Linked DNA regions of Homo sapiens: region 1 is linked to region 2. Evidence: promoter capture Hi-C in 16 types of primary human blood cells and fetal thymus (Javierre and others, 2016). All regions are on one chromosome and are shown on one strand. Each heading gives the region's core, a stretch centred on a gene start or on the middle of the fragment in contact. The rest is flanking DNA. Distances are from core to core; before and after follow the strand shown. Region 1 overlaps NFAT5 (nuclear factor of activated T cells 5). Region 2 holds the start of NOB1 (NIN1 (RPN12) binding protein 1 homolog).

Evidence for each region. The method cuts DNA at HindIII sites, captures the fragments that hold promoters and counts their contacts. A CHiCAGO score of 5 or more calls a contact.
Region 1: a contact is called between a fragment that was not itself captured here and the fragment with the promoter of NOB1 in region 2, in 1 of 17 cell types (naive CD4 T cells). The highest score is 5.5, in naive CD4 T cells.

Annotation. Positions count from the first base shown.
Region 1 is chr16:69,703,407-69,706,106 of GRCh38, forward strand. It overlaps NFAT5 (nuclear factor of activated T cells 5), which reads left to right. Exons shown (of 15, transcript NM_138713.4): 15 at 1-1,248. Among named protein-coding and RNA genes, the nearest start is that of SNORD13H, 3.9 kb to the right of the region's middle. The HindIII fragment of the contact is 3,242 bases long and covers 1-2,700 here.
Region 2 is chr16:69,753,496-69,756,195 of GRCh38, forward strand. NOB1 (NIN1 (RPN12) binding protein 1 homolog) reads right to left here and starts at 1,431. Exons shown (of 9, transcript NM_014062.3): 1 at 1,353-1,431; 2 at 1,099-1,231. The coding sequence starts at 1,415. It also overlaps the pseudogene NONOP1. RefSeq lists enhancers at 477-1,100, 1,101-1,723. The HindIII fragment of the contact is 2,537 bases long and covers 33-2,569 here.

The DNA.
Region 1 (2,700 bases), core at 63-2,562, 50 kb before region 2:
CATTTCTCGTTTCTCAAGTGTATGCATCATGGTAAATATAAACTAACCACAAGATAGGTAGATTGATTCATTTCATTTTAATCTCCTTGTGTAATTCAGTACCTCCATAATTGTTCTAATCTTCTTCCCACTGTTTACAAATTACCAGTTAATTAACTCGTGAAAGAAAAATTCACATATCAGAATAAAAATAAATGTATACTCACTTTATAAAAATCACCACTGCTGTCTTTCCTTAATACTAGCAGTGGAAATGTAAGTGGCTTACTCTACAAATTTTGGTGCTGGCAAATACATAGGCAAACTGTTGGGAGCTGCTCTAGTTACATTCCTCCCTTCTTATTCCCTTTTTCTCTTCCTCACTTTATTGCATAACATATTCCTGTACCCAAAGCATTCTACCACAGTTCTATTTGACTCCCACTTGTAATAACTCCTTTAAAAAATTCCATGTTTAACCATATGACCCTGCTTGCTTACTCATATTCTCCCTCCCTCTCCCCTTCCTTTCTCTCTCTTCCAGAAGTCATTTGCCTGGTTTGAAATATTTTGTAGGGATTGCTTATTATATTATTTTAGCTGATGAACCTCAGGACAACGTCTACACACACACACATACATACACGCACACAAAATCTCAGCTGTTGAAGAGTGGGCTTGGAATCAGACTTCTGTGTCCAGTAAAAAACTCCTGCACTGAAGTCATTGTGACTTGAGTAGTTACAGACTGATTCCAGTGAACTTGATCTAATTTCTTTTGATCTAATGAATGTGTCTGCTTACCTTGTTTCCTTTTAATTGATAAGCTCCAAGTAGTTGCTAATTTTTTGACAACTTTAAATGAGTTTCATTCACTTCTTTTACTTAATGTTTTAAGTATAGTACCAATAATTTCATTAACCTGTTCTCAAGTGGTTTAGCTACCATTCTGCCATTTTTAATTTTTATTTAATTTTATTTGCTTGAGCACACTGATCAACCACTGAACTGCCTTCTTCCATTGTCCTGCAATGATATAAGGGTTACATTTTTGTGTATATGGCTTTCATAGTTGGGATTTCAGAGCACTGATACCAGATATTTTCAGTTTGTTCTCTGGGGGAATTTCATTTGCATCTATGTTTTTAGCTATCTGTGATAACTTGTTAAATATTAAAAAGATATTTTGCTTCTATTGGAACATTTGTATACTCGCAACTATATTTCTGTAAACAGCTGCAGTCAAAAATAAAACACTGAAAGTTTTCATTTTGCAGTGGATAGCTGTCTTTTTTTTCCTCAAACTTTGTGAATGGAATTGTGTGCATGAACGACAGTTTTGAGCAGCATGAGTATATGGCTGAAATTATAAAATCATTAGGGAGGAGGTGTGAAATATAGACATATTTCTGAGTAGTTATTTTGTGCCTACCATTTTGCCAGGTAGAGTATAAGTGACTCAGTGTGACAGAATTTTTGTTTTACGTATAATTTAAATGTTTCATGTTTAGTAAAGCAATACATATACACGGAGGTGCTTTTGATGAAAACCAAGTCTCCCCATCCCTTAGTCCCATGCCCAGAGACAATCTCTGTTTATTCTTTTGGTGTTATTTCTACATCTCTAAATTAGCGCATATCAGAGTGTGGTACACAACTACCCGTGGTACGTGGATAAACACTATTTTTAAACTTACATGTATAAGTGTTTTGATGCGTAATAGAAAAAAATATAGGCTGGGCTCAGCGGCTCACGCCTGTAATCCCAGCACTTTGGGAGGCTGAGGCAGGCAGATCACCTGAGGTCAGGAGTTCGAGACCAGCCTGGCCAACATAGTGAAACCCCATCTCTACTAAAAATACAAAAAATAGCTGGGCATAGTGGCGGGCACCTGTAATCCCAGCTACTTGGCAGACAGAGGCAGGAGAATCGTTTGAACCCGGGAGACGGAGGTTGCAGTGAGCAGAGATCGCACCATTGCACTCCAGCCTGGGCAACGGGGCGAGACTCTGTCTAAAAAATAAAAAAATAATAATGTGTCTACCTACCAGAGTGAGGGAAAAAGTGAGTCAAATTAAAGAAAAATATTAAATCACTGGGCTCAGTGGCTCATGCCTCTGTAATCCCAGCTACTCGGGAGGCTAAGACAGGAGGATCACTTGAGGCCAGGAGTTGGAGACCAGCCTGAGCAACATAGCAAGACCCTGTCTCTATTTTTTTTTTTTTGATGTTTAAATGAAAGGAAAAAGGAAGAAAAATATTTTTTAAAAAAATGCTAATACAGATACATGGGTGTCATGAATATGGTATCTAATTGAATCGTAAAAGACATTGCTTTAGACAGCATACTTATACCTTCCTATCAAATATAGACAGTATCTGTTGATTCTGTAAAGGAGTAACAATTCTTAATACATCCAAATCTATATATATATATCTAAATGAGTTGTTAGGAGATTTTATATATATATATACATATATATAAAATTTATTATTATTTTTTAAACAATCCTTCTGTTCTAAATACAGTATGCCTTGCCAAGCATGGTGGCTCATGCCTGTAATCCCAACACTTTGGGAGGTCGAGGCAGGAGGACCACTTGAGCCAGCCCGGGAGTTCAAGACCAGCCTGGGCAACAAAGTGAGACTTCGTATCTACAAAACATAAAATAATTAGCCAGGCATGTTGGCATGCGCCCATAGTCCCAGCTATTCAGGCG
Region 2 (2,700 bases), core at 181-2,680:
TGCACTTACTGTGTACTAGGCACTGCATTAAAAGCTTTATGTGTTAATGCATTTCATCCTTTGCCATTCTTCAAAAGTACTATTAGTATTTCCTCGGAAAGATTTAGTAAGTTGGCAAAGATCACAGAGCTACTAAGTTGGTGGAGAAAATCGTAGAAATCACAAACAGAGGAGGTAACATCATCTCCACTATCAGCCTCTAACCTCTAAAACACTTCCAACCACTGAGGGGCCTTTCCTGGGTATCACCTTGATTCCCAACAAGAGAACAACGCTGACTCCTAAGCCAAGAGACAATTCTTTAATTTTCTTTATTTCTTATTTTTTTTGAGACAGAGTCTCGCTCTGTCGCCCAGGCTGGAGTGCAGTGGTACGATCTCGGCTCACTGCAACCTCCACCTCCAGGTTCAAGCAATTCTCCTGCCTCAGCCTCCCAAGTAGCTGGGATTACAGGAGCACACCACCACGCCCAGCTAATTTTGTATTTTTAGTAGAGGCAGGGTTTCACCATGTTGGTCAGGCTGGTCTCAAACTCCTGACCTCAGGTGATGCGCCCGCCTCGGTCTCCCAGTGCTGGGATTACAGGCCGTAAGCCACCGCGCCCAGCTTAATTTTCTTTCACATTTAATACAATGCAAAGCATTCCCTTTTTAAAGCTCTGCCAGGTGCAGATCTTTGTATCCAGTCATCAGCCCAATCTACTGAAAAGAAATGGACGAGAGTAATAGCAAGAGATCCAAACTCTTATTTTAAATCCAAATAAATTTATTGCTTGTCTGCAAAGTGCTTGACACTGAGCTGACTGCCATATTCCTCAGTTCATGCTCACAGCAACCTTGGAGACAGATACAATTATTATTCCCATTTTGCGGATGAGGTAAACGAGGCCCAAATTTGAATGCTATGCCCGAGAGCATACAGCTAGTTACTGGAGGACTCCAGACCCAGGAAGCCTCTCTCCTACCACAATCTCCTAGAAAGTGCTGGCTCTAAATCTACTGCTCTGATAAGGCAGCTAGACCCCAACTCGCACCCAACTGGGTGCCATCTGCGCCCTGGACCCCAGCTTCCCGTCAACGCTAGGGCAGAGGCACTCACCCAGCCGCACGTATTCCGGTAAGGGCTCCTTGAACCGCAGCTCGTAGGGCAGGACAGCGAGCCGCCTGCGTGTGGCCTTGTCCCGAATCTCAGTGACCACCTCCCGGATGGTGTAAATGTTCTTCCCGATGTCCTGCGGACAGAACGCCCCAGCTCAGACCCACCCGCACCAAGCAACGCTCCGCGCGACTCCACGCACTCCGGGAGGGGCGGCCAGCCCAGATCTCTCTCGTCCCGGAGGGAGCTCCCCGTACCTGCAGAGCCGCATGCCGCAGGAAAGCCCCAGCATCCGCCACAACGTGCTCCACTGGAGCCATGTTGGCTGCGTGAGAGGGGAGCGCGCATGCGCACGGAGCTTGCGCCGGCTCCTATGTCCAAGTCTGGGCCTCTGGGAACCAGGAAGAGCAGCCGCGACTTAGCTGCGCCTCCTGGCGGCCGCGCCAGCACCTCCCTGCTCTACTCGCGCGCATGCGCAGCGACGCCGCCCGCATAGCCAGAGAAGTGTGGGCGGGGTCAAACCTTGGGGGACACCTGGGAAATCGGCTTCAGCATCTAGACCTTAGTGCCTTCTTCACCTTTGAAGATAAAACCTGCCAGGTGTAGTGGTGCGCGCCTAGAGTCCCAGCTATTAAGGAGGCTGAGGCGAAAGGATTGCCTGAGCCCTGGAATGTGAAACCAGCCTGGGCAACATAGAGAGACCCCCATCTCTTCAATAAATAAATAAATTTAAAACCTGTATATATTCTTATGGTTAAAAGTCAATCAATACAGATTACCTAATTTCGTTATCACAGCACCCCTATGAGATAGGTACTGTTTTTTTTTAAAGGCTTAAAATGTATTTTAATAGGTCGATGCTGCATTACTGCTCCAGTTCTCAGAAAAACTCCAAATATATCAGAGACAAATCAAATACAATACACCAATGGAAAAAAAAGGCACAGCATGACTACCTAAGATAGGCGAGTCTAAGAGCTACTGTCAGACCTTCAGTATACAGTAACCCTGTTCCCAAGATTGTACTAGGCCTATCAAGAAAAGCTGTGAACAGCAGTATCATAGACACAAAAGGGTCATTCCTGGGTGTCCTCACCCAAGAAAAAGATGGAGGCAAGTTAACACAAGATTTTTTTTTAAAGATATACTAAAATGAAAATCTCTAAGAGAAAATGTCTTCTTTAGGACATGAAGGGGTAATATATGGGATATAATAGAACCGTATGTACGTTGCCTGTGACCTTTGTGGACGTTTACCTGAATTCTCACCTGGGAGTGAATGGAGCAATGCGGCTAAGGTCATTGGGGGATGTTTGGTTTTTGTGGTGTATGTGGCAGTTTCTCTGGGACTGGGGGAGTGTAAGGATAAGAAAGCAAGTGAGGTTGGGCACGGTGGCTCACCCCTGTAATCCCAGCATTTTGGGAGGCTGAGGCAGGGGATCACGAGGTCAGGAGTTCAAGATCAGCCTGGACAAGCTTGAACCCGAGAGGCAGAGATTGCAGTGAGCCGAGATCGTGCCACTACACTCCAGCCTGGGCGACAGAGTAAGACTCCATCTCGGGGGCAGGGCAAGCAAATGAAACAAGATGGACAAAAAAAAAAAA